5 separate regions of the Homo sapiens genome follow, and all the other regions are linked to region 1. The links are contacts of gene promoters, found by promoter capture Hi-C in human tissues and cell types (Jung and others, 2019). All regions are on one chromosome and are shown on one strand. The core of a region is centred on a gene start or on the middle of the fragment in contact, and the rest is flanking DNA. Distances in the headings are between cores, read along the strand shown. Region 1 holds the start of SAP30 (Sin3A associated protein 30). Region 2 overlaps CEP44 (centrosomal protein 44). Region 3 overlaps FBXO8 (F-box protein 8). Region 4 overlaps LINC02268 (long intergenic non-protein coding RNA 2268). Region 5 overlaps LINC02268 (long intergenic non-protein coding RNA 2268).

The links. Contacts are between HindIII fragments. The study calls those that stand out against the background at their distance.
Region 2: a contact is called between a fragment that was not itself captured here and the fragment with the promoter of SAP30 in region 1, in 1 of the 25 tissues and cell types used here (mesenchymal stem cells).
Region 3: a fragment that was not itself captured here is called in contact with the fragment with the promoter of SAP30 in region 1 in 1 of the 25 tissues and cell types used here (mesenchymal stem cells).
Region 4: a contact is called between a fragment that was not itself captured here and the fragment with the promoter of SAP30 in region 1, in 1 of the 25 tissues and cell types used here (mesenchymal stem cells).
Region 5: a contact is called between a fragment that was not itself captured here and the fragment with the promoter of SAP30 in region 1, in 1 of the 25 tissues and cell types used here (heart left ventricle).

The regions. Positions count from the first base shown.
Region 1 is chr4:173,369,382-173,372,440 of GRCh38, forward strand. SAP30 (Sin3A associated protein 30) reads left to right here and starts at 1,573. Exons shown (of 4, transcript NM_003864.4): 1 at 1,573-2,116. The coding sequence starts at 1,802. It overlaps SAP30-DT (SAP30 divergent transcript), which reads right to left and starts at 1,317. Exons shown (of 4, transcript NR_183973.1): 1 at 911-1,317; 2 at 53-229. RefSeq lists enhancers at 794-1,033, 2,117-2,680, 2,384-2,683 and silencers at 1,434-1,603, 1,884-2,263. The HindIII fragment of the contact is 15,433 bases long and covers 1-3,059 here.
Region 2 is chr4:174,288,513-174,291,571 of GRCh38, forward strand. The region is part of intron 1 of CEP44 (centrosomal protein 44); the gene reads left to right. Among named protein-coding and RNA genes, the nearest start is that of CEP44, 6.1 kb to the left of the region's middle. The HindIII fragment of the contact is 6,159 bases long and covers 1-3,059 here.
Region 3 is chr4:174,271,537-174,274,595 of GRCh38, forward strand. The region is part of intron 1 of FBXO8 (F-box protein 8); the gene reads right to left. Among named protein-coding and RNA genes, the nearest start is that of FBXO8, 11 kb to the right of the region's middle. The HindIII fragment of the contact is 5,625 bases long and covers 1-3,059 here.
Region 4 is chr4:174,151,640-174,154,698 of GRCh38, forward strand. The region is part of intron 1 of LINC02268 (long intergenic non-protein coding RNA 2268); the gene reads right to left. Among named protein-coding and RNA genes, the nearest start is that of LINC02268, 67 kb to the right of the region's middle. The HindIII fragment of the contact is 4,826 bases long and covers 1-3,059 here.
Region 5 is chr4:174,100,810-174,103,868 of GRCh38, forward strand. The region is part of intron 2 of LINC02268 (long intergenic non-protein coding RNA 2268); the gene reads right to left. Among named protein-coding and RNA genes, the nearest start is that of LINC02268, 120 kb to the right of the region's middle. The HindIII fragment of the contact is 5,555 bases long and covers 1-3,059 here.

The DNA of each region.
Region 1 (3,059 bases), core at 323-2,822:
TTGTTTTTCTTTGTCATATCCTAGAACTCAAACGCACAGATACAATGGATACCTTTGATTTTCTGCGTCGATGGCATTTTGCATTTAAAAAGATCATCTGGGTGGGGTGGCGCGCGTCTGTAATCCCAGCTACTCGGGAGGCTGAGGCAGGAGAATCGCTTGAACTCGAGAGGCGGAGGTTGCAGGATCGCGCCACTGCACTGCACTCCATCCTGGGCGACAGAGCAAACTGTCTCAAAAGAAAAAAAAATCATTTATCACTAAATTTACTCACCAAAAGAACTTGCAAAAAAAAAACCCAAAACCCTACTGCCTAAAATATATTTTAAAACGTATTTGTGTTTAAGCAGCATATATCTTTTGATAAATAATGACGCATGGTAGCTAACTAGTAAAGATGCAGCTTTCATATTAGCCACGCCCATCCCTCTCTCCGCCCTCCACAAGCACGTCCCCGCAAGCGCGCAGGAACATACACGCGTACGCGCGCACACACACGTACACACGCGCGCGCCCGCGAACACATACATACAAGCAGGCGCGCCCAAACGCCGGCAGCACACAGGCGCGCACGCGCTTTTCAGGACTCAGGAAATGCGCTTTCTGCTCCCCGCGCCCGGTAGAGCTAATGCAGGGAAGTTTCTGGGAACATTCGACCAGCGTTTGTATTGGTGAGGTTCCAAGTTTCCTTTAAAATGATATGACTCCGCCCTTCTCCAAAACCGTTTGAGGAGAAATGGAAAAGGTTGGGCGTGGAGGTGAAAAGGAGCCCTGTTGTCAACTGGTCCGTACTCCACCTCAGGAGGCGGCCAACTTGGTGCGCCCAAGAATAAAAACATTTCCCTTGTAAGAACATGCAAGTGTTTAGAAACGCCCCCCCACCCCCCCGCAAGGCGTTTGTGAGGGGGACCTGTCACAGTTGAGAAGTCAGGATGGGCGTTTTCCTCCCAGGAGGTGCCCTATTAATTTGCGGCCTCGATAGTTGGTCAAGCCGGGATGTTAGCTGCGGAACCTCCAGGACCGAAGAGCGCCAATTCTCCTGAGTTCTCCTTGGTTTGGGTTTCCCACAAAAGAGTGGTCACACCAAAAACTCTGTCTCCACAAATGCGAAACGGGCTCGAAACTTTTTTTTCCCCACACGATCACTTCCCACACCACTCCCATCCCTTTATGTTTCGCCTCAGGAGTCGAGGAACTTCTCTGAAAACCAATTCTACGATATTCCAGCAGCTAAACACAGCCCGAATTCCCTAGAAACAGAGAGAGCGAGAGAAAACACTGTAAACCCCAATCACACGCTCCTGTTTTCCCGGTACTGAAAAAAAAAAAAAAAAAAAAAAGTGGGTCCGTGGCCGCGCTATGCATGCTAGGATTAGTAGTTCCTCCGTCCCTCATGGCGCGGGGTCAGGGCGGAGCTCAGGTTGACTCTGCAGCAGAGAACTACAATTCCCATGGGGCCGCGCGGCAGAAAGAAAGGGGCGGGACGGGAGGGGGCGCGTCGCGCTTGCGCAGGTCCCGGGGCCGGAGGGAGGCGGAGGCGTAGCGGTCCAACTGCTGAAGTCCCCATGTGACAGTGAGCGGGGTCCCCGCTCCAGGAGACGCTCGAGTCTGCGTCCCGGCCCTCAGCACTGTCCACTGTTTCGGTGCCAGCAGAGACCAGCAGGCCCGGGACAGTTGGTGTTTGGCCGTGCCGCTGTCTAACTTGGTGTGCAGAGTGAATTGCCGCTGCCGGAGCGGAGAGAGGCGGAGCGGCCAGGAGAGAGGGGATTTCTGTCAGCGCCGGCCTCGGGAGCTCGGAGACATGAACGGCTTCACGCCTGACGAGATGAGCCGCGGCGGGGATGCGGCCGCCGCAGTGGCCGCAGTGGTCGCTGCCGCGGCCGCCGCCGCCTCGGCGGGGAACGGGACCGGCGCGGGCACCGGGGCTGAGGTGCCGGGCGCGGGGGCGGTCTCAGCGGCTGGGCCCCCGGGGGCGGCCGGGCCGGGCCCCGGGCAACTGTGCTGCCTGCGGGAGGATGGTGAGCGGTGCGGCCGGGCGGCAGGCAACGCCAGCTTCAGCAAGAGGATCCAGAAGAGCATCTCCCAGAAGAAGGTGAAGATCGAGCTGGATAAGAGCGTAAGTAAACCGCGGGACCGCCCTGCCCTCCCGCCCCTCGGTGGGGCCCCAGGAGCCGGGCAAAGGCACGGGTTGTCGGCGGGGTCCCCCAGACAACCGCACTGGCTGCAGTGCGGTCTCGTGGAGTCTGTGTTTGGAAGCAAATAACAAAGTCGCTGCAACTCCTACCGCCACCCCAACACACACACCACACACAGGCTGTCGTTCCCCTCTTCTTTCCCACCCTGGCCCCCAACCTCCCGCTGCCTGCGTCTCTCCCGCGCAGTCTTCCCTCTTCCTTCTCCTCTGCGACCGGGACACGAAACAAAGGGGACCGGCGCACTGAGGGCCCAGAGTAGTTTTCTTGCAGCCCGGCAGCTCTTCTGGAATGGAGGCGCCTTTGTTTTGCTGCCCAAGCTGGTGTTTGGCCCCAGGCGGTACTAAATCCCGTCGTCTAGGAGAAAGCGGAGGACCTTCACGAACAAGGAAGATCCTGTTCTTTTCTGTGTTCCGTCTCCTCCGGAGCGGAGTGAGAGGGAAGCCGAGCTCACCCGCCGCCTGGCAGTGAGCCGGGGTTGTAAACGGCGTTTGCGCTGTCAGCTCCGAGGGCAGCTACTCCGATGGTGGGGAGCACGTAGCCTCTGCGGTTTTGCCATCCCCTTGGCAGCCATCAGGATTTTTTGCACGTCTTTTCGTTTGACCATCTATGAGGTTTTTAGAAACAGCCGTTGCTACTTTTGGGAGATCTGGCTAGCGGTAAATGAATAACATGGTATCGAGAACCTACCACAAGTCCTGCATATTTTTATCTTGCGCTTGGCTTAGAAGTAAATGTAAAAGCCTGTTAGCTCAGTCCGTGTTTGTTTCAAATGCTAGTCTACAGCTCGCAGGAGTATATGTAATTAAAGTTTTTGAAAAGTTTATTTGTGACACTTTTTGCCCGTTTAAACAGTTTTCAGTGTTA
Region 2 (3,059 bases), core at 173-2,672, 920 kb after region 1:
AGATAATACAGTATTTGTCTTTTTGTGTTTAGCTTATTTCACTTAGCATAATGTCCTTCAGGTTCATCCATGTTGTTGCAAATGGCAGGATTTCCTTCTTTTTTAAAGGCAAATTTGTTTATTCTCACATTTTTGTTGGGGTCCCTAAGGTTTTCTACATCTAAGATCATGTCATCTGCAAACAGATATTGTACCTCTTCTCTTTTTATTTGGATGTTTTTAATTTATTTTTCTTACCTAGTTATTCTGGCTAGGACTTAAAATACTACGCTGAATAGGAGAGGCTAAAGTAGGCAACCTTGCCTTGTTCCTCATCTTATGGGGAAAGCTTTCAGTTTTTTATCTTTAAGTATCTTAGCTGTGGGCTTCTCATAAATGGACTTTATTTTGTTTTTCCTTTACCTAATTTGCTATAAGGTTCTTCCATACCTAGTTTATTGGGAGTTTTTATCACAAAAGAGTATCGAATTTTGTCAAGTGCTTTTTCTGCATCTGTGCAGATGCCCATGTGAGTTTTATCCTTCATTCTATTAATGCAGTATATTACATTGGTTGGTTGTCATATGTTGAACCATCCTTGCATCACAATGAAAAATCCTACTTGGTCATGGTATATGATTCTTTTAATGTGCTGTTGTGTTTGGTTTGCTAACATTTCATTGAGGATTTTTACGTCTATATTCATCAAATGTATTAGACTGTAGTTTTCTTGTAGTGTATTTGTCTGGCTTTGGTATCAGGGTGATGCAGGCCTCAGAATGACTTTGGAAGTGTTCCCTCTTCTTTTTTTTTTTTTTTTAGATATGTTTAATAAGGTTTTGTATTAATTTTTCTTTAAATGTTTGCTAGAATGTATCTGGCTCTTGGCTTTTCTTTGTTGGGAATTTTTTGATTATTCCATCAATCTCCTTTTTTGTTATTTGTCTATTCAAGCATTCTATTTCTTCTTGATTCAGTCTTGGTAAGTTATATTTTTCTAGGAATTTACCCATTTTTTTTTAGATTGTCCAATTTGATGGCATATAATTGTTCATAATAGTCCCTTATGATACTTTTTATATCTGTGGGATCAATTGTGTCCTCTTTCATTTCTGATTTTGTTTGAGTCTTCTATTTTTAAAGTCTAGCCAAGGATTTGTTGATTTAGTTTGTCTTTTCAAAAGAGGAACTTTTAGTTTTGTCAATTTTTAAAATTGTTTTTCAATTTTCTATTTCATTTATTTCTAATCTAATCTTTATTATTTTCTTCCTTCTGCTAATTTTGGATTTAGTTTGTTCTTTTTCTAGTTCCTTGAGGTGTAAAGTTAGGTTGTTTTATTGAGACCTTTTTTTTTTTTTCTTTGAGACAGAGTCTTGCTCTGTCACCAGGCTGGAGTGCAGTGGCGTGATGATCTTGGCTTACTGCAACCTCCGCCTCCCGGGTTCAAGTGATTCTCCTGCCTCAGCCTCCCGAGTAGGTGGGAGTCCCAAGTAGGTGGGACTAGAGCCACGCACCACCATGCTCAGCTAATTTTTGTATTTTTTGTAGAGATGGGGTTTCACCATGTTAGCCAGGATGGTCTCAATCTCTTGACCTAGTGACCCGCCTGCCTCAGCCCCCAAAAGTGCTAGGATTATAGGCGTGAGCCACTGTGTCCTGCCTCTTTCTTCTTCTTAATGAATTTATTGCTATAAACACTTCTCTTATTCTGCTTTTACTGCATCCTATATGTTTGGGTATACTGTGTTTTTATTATTGTTTGTCTTGAGATATTTTATAATTTCTGTTTTGATTTATTCTTTGACCCAGTATTATTTAATAGTATGTTATTTAATTCCCCTGTATTTGTGAATTTTTCCATTTTCTTTCTATTATTGATTTCTAGTTTCATTCCCTCGTGATCAGACAAAATGTTTAGAATGTTTTTAGTCTTCTTAAATTTGTTAAGACTTGTTTTGTGACCTAGGCTGTGATCAGTTATAGAGAATGTTTCATGTCCTTTTGAGAAGAATGATTATTTTGCTATGGTTGGGTCTCATGTTCTGTATATGCATGTTAGGTCTTTGGTCTATAGTGTTGTATAGTTTGCAATTTACTTGTTGGTATTCTGTCCGGATGACCAGTACATTATAGACAGTGACGTATCAAAGTCTCCTTCTGTATTGTATTGATATCTATTTCTTCCTCCAATTCTATCAATATTTGCTGTTGGCATTCTGTCTGGATGACCTGTACATTATAGAGAGTGATGTATCAAAGTCTCCTTCTATATTGTATCGATATCTATTTCTTCCTTCAAATCTGTCAATGTTCACTGTATATTTTAAGGTGCTTTGATGTTGGGTGCATATGTATTTTTAGTTGTTGTATCTTTCTATTGAATTGACCCTTTTACTATTATATAATGCCTTCTTTGTCTCTTTTGACAGTTGTCGACTTAAAGTCTATTTTGTCTGATATAGATAGCCACCCTGCTCTCTTTTGGTTATAGTTTGCATGGAATATCTTTCTCAATCCCTTCACTTTTAGCCTACGTGTGTCCTTAAATGTTAGAGTCTCTTGTAGATAGCGTATAGTTGAGTGTTGTTTTTATTATCCATTTCAGCCATTCCATGTCTACTGAGAGCCCTTAATTATTAAAAATTTAAAGTAATAATTTTTAATAATTAAGTACTTAATTGTTTCCATTTTATTCATTGTTTTCTATTTGCTTTCTGTTTCTCCTGTTTTTCTCTTGTTTGTTGTCTTTGTGATTTGATGATTGTAGTAGAATGCTTTGATTTTTTTCTTTTTTTTGTTTATTTACTATACTTTTTATTTTGGTTACTATGGGGTTTGCATCAAATATTATGTAGTCATAGCAGGCTTTTTAAAGCTAGTAACAACTTCATTCATATTCAGAATCTCTACACTTCTCCCCCCTCTTCCTCACCAATGTATGTAATTGATTTCAGATTTTACTTCTTTCTATATTGTTTCTATTAACAAATTTCTGTGGTTGTTGTAGTTACTCATACTATTTTTGTCTTTTAATTTATATACTAGTGTTCAATGAGATTTACGTGCCACAGATTTCAGT
Region 3 (3,059 bases), core at 213-2,712, 900 kb after region 1:
TAGAATGCTTAGGTATGTACCCCAACCCCTTTCCCTCACTCAGGCAAAATGAAGAAGCATTTTTGCTAAAGAAATTGAATGACATTAGAGAAAAACTCCCTGCCACCACCCTCCTTATATTTACAATTGGCCCAGCATAATGGCTGTCAAACCAATCACCTCAATGGAAGGAATATGGTGCACAAATCTGTAAGTCACTTCTTATTGCCTCAAAGATCCAATGTTCAAGCATTAAAATGTGGCTGAAACACTTGCATAGCAATTACTTGATTTATTTTTCCTGATTTCATCTGGTAACTGGTCAATAAATTTTAATCTTAATTTAAATAGATATAAAATCTTATATATATTATGTATTTGGGGGATTTACCTATAGGAGGTACTCATCAAAGTTCTGCTATACACTAATATGGTGAAAAGGTGCATCTTCTTCTCAACTTGTACCTTTCCAGTTTACTTGGGACCCCCTTAGGGGCTACAAAGAAACTCCTAAGGCAATGTTTCCTAAACTTGGATTATGAGTGTTCAGTGAACTAATAGCAAATCAAAACAAAACAAAAGCAATGGGATAACGTCAAAAGGACATTAGGAGCTAATTTGAAGGAGGCTTCTATTGGCCAAACCTGGAACATCAAAATAAAAATGACAGTAATGAATTAATTGCTCCTTAGTATTTGCAGTAGACTGGTTCCAGGATCACCCCCTCATGTCACCTCCCCCAGATACCAAAATCCATGAATGCTCAAGTCCCTTGTATAAAATGGCATAGTATACATCCTCCTGTATACTTTAAATCATCTCTAGATTACTTATAACATCCAATAAGATGTAAATGCTATGTAAATAGTTGTTATACTGTATTCTAAAATTTGTATTATTATTTATTGTTGTACTGTTACTTTCTATTTTTTTCCAAATAGTTTCAATTGTGGTTGGATGACACTGGATGCAGATCCACAAATACTGAGGACCAACTGTATAATCCATTACATAAAAAAAGAATCTGTGAGTCTACACTGATGATGATCAATAAAAACATAAAGGAGAAGGAAAGCTCTTTTTTAGAGTAGAATTCTAATTAAAGAAGATAGAAAGAATAATGTAGTTAGAAAAATTATCATTTTACCATCAGAGAAAAAATAATTTAGGCAAGAATTATCAATGGATGTTGTTGAATCTGGAGTTTGACAAAGAATGGAATACTTACAGAATCCCAAAGTATCTTCCCACATATCAGTCATTAATTACAAGAAAAAATTAAGAAATAAGACAAAACCTTAACCAAATGATGAAAATTAACATTTACAAATAAGAGGCAAATGCACATCATATGCCTCTAGATGTGATGCCCTGAGGACACAACATCATTATATAGTATTCCAGCCAAAAATCCATAATCTGAATTTAATAGGGAATATCAGAGAAACTCAAAAGGCAGTCTGTAAAATAACAGAATATTTTCCTTCAAAAACACCAATGCCAGGCTGGGAATGGTGGCTCATGCCTCTAATCTCAGTGCTTTGGGAGAGCAAGGCCAAGAGGATTGCTTGAGGACAGCCCGGGCAACATAGCGAGACCCTGTCTCTATAAAAAATTAAAAATTAGATGAGTGTGGTGGCATGTGCCTGTAGTCCTAGCTACTTAGGCGGCTGAGGCAGGAGGATCACTTGAAGCCAGGAATTGGAGGTTCCAGTGAACTAAGATTACACTACTGCACTCCAACCTGAGTGACGGAGCAAAACTCTGTTCCTAAAAAATAAATCAATAATGCCAATGTCATAAAAGTTAAAAAAAAAAAAAAGAAAAGAAAAGAAAAAAGGTGGAAGAACAGTTTTGGATTAAAAGAGGCTAAAAACAATACCACCGAAATGCAGTATGTCAACAGGATTGGAAAAAAATTGCTATGTCGCACATTATTGAGATAAATAAGAAACTAGATATATGGGCTGAAGATTGGATAAAAATATGGTATCATAGTATCAATGTTAAATTTCCTAAACTTGATAACTGTGAAATGGCTATACAGAAGTATATCCTCATTCTTAGGGAACACACACTGAAGTGTGATGGTGTGATGTATGCAACCTACTCCAAAATGGTTCAGCAAAACAGTAACGTCTATGTCTATACAGATGGAACAATAAGGTGATGTGGCAAAATATTAAAAATTTGTAAACCTGGCTAAAAAGTATTCAAGGGTTATTTTTATTCCTCTAACAATTTTTTTGTAACTACAAATCTCCTAGTTGTGGAATCCAGGCATGTAAATTTGAAAAAGATGTGTGTTTGAGTTTATGTACTCAGTTTAAGAATTATTATTATTATTATTACCTTAGGGCTCAGTGTAATACAGACTGAAGACCATTACTAAAGAAATAGTGGTCCAGAGAGGTTAAGCAAATTTGCCTGAGAAGTCAAAGCTGGAAAAATGGAAGATTTAGGATTCAAACTCAGTTCTATCTGAGTCCAAAGCTTTTATTCTTAACCCACAAACCATATTCCCAGAACCGCTGGAGCCCATGGATGACAAAAGCAATTTACCATCTGTTTCTTCACCACTGGTTCTCATCTCTTTTTACCCCGTCACTGTTTATTACCTCCATCGTTGGTCCCAGCTGCAGCTGCTCTTTCAGGCTACTGCTGTTCTTGTGGAAAGCACACAGGCTTTGATGTGAAGAAAGATCAGCATCAAACCCCAACACGGAATCTGATTAGCCTGTGATTTCTGATCCTCATTCTTCTCATTAGTAAAATAACGGATAATAATTCTTATTCCATGGGACTTAGTAGGGATAACATTTATGGAACTTAACCCATAGTAGGTAGTTTACAATAAAAGGTAGTTTCGTACTCATCCCTCTCGCCCTCTTTAAATGATAACTATTATTTTGGTTCCTTCATTTCAAATACACCTGATAACTGTGGATTAATTACCTGAGTAGTCATAATCCTGGTCCTGAATTTCATTAATTTGGGATCTGTGAAATTTGGAGAGATGCCATTTACATAGCAAGGCCATAGTTCCAACACGCACTAGTTTCAGTTAACATGGTAAAATG
Region 4 (3,059 bases), core at 313-2,812, 780 kb after region 1:
AACTTAGCACAAGAATATTTGTTACCATGGACTCATAAGTTCAAGGCTATAGATGTAAAACTCATATATAGTCAGACTTCTGCTGTGATAAAAATGTTCCTACTTCATATGATGTAATATTTTCTGGTGTGCTATAAAGGGCATCAGAACTTTGGGATAGATTTTCACCTCAATAAGTTGGAGAAGCACTAGCATGAGGATTAATTTAATTAATTTTATTAAAGGCACTATTTTTTTAAATGTTACCTTCCTGTCCAATTGATAACAATGATAGAAGAGGATACCTTAACCAAGGAATAATTAGGAACATGGGACAAAGACCCAGTGTTCTTTGACTGGTTAATAATTTGTACTTTCCTTGGTCAAAATCAAGAGGGGCTTGATAGAAAGTTCTCTGAGTATTTCAACAGGAAAAAAGCTGAAGTTTGACTTAGCTTAAATTAGTTATCACCCTCAATATCATAAACTTCTACCATTTGGATCATTCCTTTGGTTTACGGTACCACAGTCCTCATGAAAATGATCACGTTTATCAAAATACTTTTTTGCTTGAGGAGCAATCCATAGTAGGCATTTAATATAGAAAAACTTTGGTAGTGTAAAGGATTAAGGAAAGGTCAGACAGATTGCTGCTTGACAAAACTTGTGCCCAGAATGTCATATAAATGTGCACATAGTAACTGCACAATAAATGTTGACCCACGGAAGTGGCAAGCTTAGAAACAAGGCAAGTGCTGAAGGTGAAAATGAAATGCTAAAATGGGCATAGCCATGCCCAAACCACACTCCTCAAAACCAGCCCTCAAGCTCCAGTTTCCTCTTTTGATTTTCTTATCCATAATCAGTATTTTTCAGCCTGATGAACAATTCAGAAGAGACAGTTTGAAGAGTTCAAGATTTTAATAAGTCAGAATCTCCAAAATCTTGTTTTCTTTTCTGCTCTTAATGCAGGAAAATTTGCTTCTGCTCTGTGAGTAGGAAAAATGAGCACATGGAGAGAGAGAGTGTGGCCTGAATGGTAATCCCTAGCCTAAAGCTTCACAAAGAAAAACTGAAAAGGCTTTTATGAAGAGAATTCAGCCTTTACGTGCATGACTTGAAGCAATCTCTTGAACTAGGTTCTGAAGTTCAGAAAACAAATTCTATATAATCAAAACAGAGGGCAGAGTTATGTGTGGATGTCTTGGCTCTCCTAAAATTTTGAGCATTTCCTGTAGGAAGTCTCTAAGAATAATGTGGCTCAGCCCCAGATAGAGGAGCAACAAGAGGACACCAGGGTGCTGCCAATCCTACTTGTCCATCCTTCTGGTTTTACAGCAAACCTAGCAGGAAGCAGCAATTGGAGCCTGGGAATAATGGGTGAGGGCGTTGATCTTTGGCCACTGAAGACAGCCTGCTTAAAATTGGAGAAAACAAAAACAAAAACAAAAACAGAAGAAAAAAAAACCCCACTGCACTTCTTCCAACATGTAGTTTCAAAATGTAAAAGAATAAAAATTAAGCTTCTTTCCCTTGGAATCTTGAGTTTATCTTTTCATCAGGAAGATATAAATTGTAACCTCCTCTCTTTGCTTAACAAACAGCTAACTATAATACAGAGGGTTTCCCTCCTTAGAGGTAATATGATATTTCCCCCCCTTTCTCACTGTCATTTATACATAGTGGAAGTGTCTTAAAGAATAAGCATGATCATGTAAGATATACATTGTGGTTTGTAAAATATTCAAGTTTTTTTACTTAGTCACCTCTATGCCAGCTTTTAAATATGACTGAAATATGTTCATAAGATTATTTAAACTTTTGTCCTAAAGTTTTGTTCTCCTTATTAATTTATCACATGTGTCCTATGTAATATGATCATCTGTATATGGTATGTAAAAAATATATATATGTTTAGCTCCTACAAAGGTTTTTCTCAGATAAATCCAACTACGAATAAGTAGACACACCCCATCCACATTCAGAAAGTGATTTAAAGCCCAGGAGACCCCATGATGTGGCCATACTTTGAAACAGGGGAGCTACATTCAATTTTTAAGAAACCTAATGAAAAAATTATAAAGTCATGAAAAAAGTTATAAGCACAAATATCAGGGTTTGAGAATGGCAGTTGTATAAGGTCACTCTGGAAAAATTAATATTTTGTCTAAAATAAAGTCCTATATTATTTAAATAGTTATAAATATGTTTATAAGCCAAATTAATTTCAAAATGCTACATTTATAGATATATGATAAGCAAATGAGTAATGAAAATATATTAATATATTAATTATATTAATTAAATATATTATTTAAAATATATATTTCATACATAAATTAAATATAGTACAATATTTATATGTACTACAATTATATATCTACATATAATAATTATGTTATGCATATTACATTGCATATATTTTATATGTAAATGACATATATTTATTCTTTTTAACCATATAGCTTAAACTTTTCTATTTCAACAAAGAAAGCAAAATACGTATTTTATTTCTAGGATTCCATTCAGAAGACATGTGATACACCTCGAAACTGAATTTTTATTTGTTTATTAAAAGCCTGACACATGGATTTTGATATTTTTTATGTCCCTACCCTGTGCTAATGTGATAAATATAATTTCCTTTTTCAAACTACTCATATCTTAAATGCTCTTTTACTACATGTTTGGCCTCAAATTCCTTTTTGAATAAGGTGGAGTACTATAAACAAACAATATTTAATGGCTGTTTTGCTGAATAAAAATATAACAGTTAACAGCTTTCTTCATTAACATGCTCGCCCAGGAGCTGGTTTAACTTTCCATAGCAAGACGTGGTCATCAAAATTCCTATTCCATATTTCCAAATGCTTTTTCTGTCATATTATTTACTGGAATTTAGATTATTATAAGCATACGTTCTATGAGGAAATTTTTTAAACTGATAACACCATAAAAACTACATCACCTGGGAGACTGAAGCTCTGGTTTAGATGAGAAAATTCTTTTCAGATCCACAGTTTCGATTTGCAGCAGGGATGACTCAGCCTCCGATAGCACACTGTGTATCCAATGCCTAG
Region 5 (3,059 bases), core at 302-2,801, 730 kb after region 1:
GCCACCCAAGTAGAGGGGGCTACCGGCACGTGACACCATGTCTGGCTAATTTTTGTATTTTTGGTAGAAATGGGGTTTTGCCATGTTGACCAGGCTGGCCTTGAATTTCTGAGCACAGGTGATACCCCCGCTTCAGCCCCTCAAAGTGCTGGGATTACAGGAGTGAGCCACCACTCCCAACCATCTTGTCATTAAATTATAACCAGTTCAATAACAGGGATGTTCTGTACATGAAAACTTTCCATAGTACTTTATTATATTTACCATTATGGAAGGAGATCATTAAATTTTTGCTATGATCATCAAAAAATGCTATAAAAATGACATCTAATGAAATTCGAAAGTTTCCACATTTGCACCCATGTGTGTAAATATGACTGACTGCACATAAATATCTGAATCCATGTTTCCAGATAAGCTCAAAAAAATAGGTATAGTTCATTATTTATTTTCTTTATTTCTTCTTCTTATCTAGGACAAAAGTGCATATTGACTACCTCATTATATCATCATGTGATAGAAAGAGAAGTAGGGATCCCAGGCTCTAGCTCTGGCTCCCAATACCTGTGGCCTTGACAAACCAGGTCATGTCTCTGGAATTCACCAGTAAAGTAAAAAGTGCGTGCCAGATGATCTCCAAGGTACTTTCTGTTTCTGGTATTCTGAGAGTCTTTATGGGGCCATCAACTCAAGCTAGCTGGCTCCCATTTGGGTCAAAGTGTCTTATCTTTCAAGAAGTGAATATTTTGGTGTCAGAAAGTCAACTGAAATGAAAAGAGAGGGAGTAAGGGAGGCAAGGCGGGAGAGAAAGAAACTAAAGTGAACCAAAATTCTTCTTTACCCTAGGAATTTGTAGAAATTTGTACAATTAACTCTACCCAGGGAAAATTAGTTATTTCTTTTCTCCCCACAAGACATTATTTGGGCCACCCTATGCAGCATAATGAGGCCCTGCCTCTACAAAAAAATTAAAATAAATAAAAAATTAGCCGGGCATAGTGGCACGTGCCTGTAGTCCCAGCAACTGGGGAGACTGCGGTGGGAGGATCACTTGAGCCTAGGAGGTCGAGTCTGCAGTGAGCCATAATCACGTCACTGCACTCCATTCTGGGGGACAGAGGCTGACTCTGTTTTTTAAAAAAGAGATATTTGGGGCTCAGAAAGTCAGTAAACATTGCCACAGATTATAACCTAATCTACCCTGCACCTATTGATTGTGGGACAAGATGTAACATTTCAATGGCTAAGATAATCAAATAAATATTAAAAATATTAAAATTTCCTAATCACCTCTAATTCATTTATAAGGACTAACCACAGATAAGATGATTTAGGTTTCAAAAGAAGCCACATGAAGTAGTGAAAAGAGCACAGAAATGTAAGCTTGAAAATCTATATTCTATTCTGTTCTCTGTTCTGACCCATTTGTAGGATACTGGCAAGTGACTTAAGATCTTTAAATCCCAGTTCATTAATTGAAGAATAAAATGTTTGGATTTGTTGGTATTTAAGATGTCTGGCAACAATGGAATTTCTTGACTCTATGAAAGATGAGACTTATTGAGAAATAGAGGTAACTTTATAACACTGAAAGCCTATCCTAGTTAGATGCAGTAGGAAGGCTCATGAGCAACGTTTTCTTAGAAACCAGAATTCTTGCTTATTTTGGATTTACCACCACTGTTATAAGGAGCAAAAGAAAAACTTTTCCATCCTGGTTAGAAGATAAAAGGATGAGTTAAGATCATATGTCACAGATCTCAAGCCAGCAAAGTTTATAGGTAGAATAATTTAAAAATAAGCAAGTATGTAATCTACATCAATGAAAACATGGGAAACTTGTTTTTTTTTATCATTAATTAGAGCAACAAAACTGGGCAGTGGGGGTGGGGGCAAAGGCTTCTTAAGAGAAATTAATCTCAGTTTCATGCCTCAACTTGAAATGTACCAAACTTTCAGGTAATAGATTTATTTCATAGAAAGCAAAAAGAGAATATGTATTGAAAAAATTATTCCAAATAAAATGAAAATAATTTCCAGCAAAGATTAATATTGCTCTTAGAACTTAAGGTACAGGAATTTTTTTAAAAAAAGAGATTTCATATTCAGAAATATTCTCATAGCAGGAACTTTTTCTAGCGTAATATTAGAAAATTTCCTGAATATTATAGTAGTGAGAAACTTCATTTTAATTTAAATCTATTTTGCTGTTAGATTTCACACACCAAACATCCTATTAGTCTAGGTGGTTCAATTGCATAATAACAGTATTTTTTATCGCTTTAGATGATCTCTTTAGATCTGCTGGATAATTTTATCAATGAGAGAAAATGAAGACTGTTATTTGATTACTCGAGTCTTGAGACAATCATAAGTATTTAGATTCATAAAGCCAAATAAACAAAAGGGGGGTTTGTTGCTGGCCATATGATGAGCACCTAGCTTCTCTGTCGTTAAAAGTTTCCTCACACCTTACGATGTAACAAAACATTTCACAAATAGCCAGAAAGAAAATCAGATTCTTGTGAGGCTTCTCAAGATAGTTATTGTGAATGTTTGTGCATAAACATTCTGAGACAGACAGGGGTGCGCACCCTCCTGCACCCCACCGCCACACACAACCTATCTCAGAAATTTGCGAAAACATAGTCTAACAGTTTCTGTGGAAAATGCCTCATTAATCTTGGGTGAATCACCATAGGAACCTGTGGAAGGTGAAATCTTGAACAGGATGGAGCCTTCTCATCAGTCATTGATTAGTGTTAGAAATAACTCCTACTGTTTCATGTTACCTACAATCTTCAAAGTAATAATGGTTTTCAGTACAGAAATAAGTTAGAAATATTTCGAAGATAATGACTCAGATGTTATTTTAGAATTCCCCATTACACTAAATATCTAAAACAATAAAATGTTTACAGTTATACTTTGTTCTCTGCCCGATTTTTTCTAACTTTCCACGAATTCTCCTGTATCTCTGGATTATCTATGCCTCTGTTCTCAATTAAAATCTCCAAAGAATGGAAAGACTGAAATACAAGAAAAAGAGACAGAAGCTA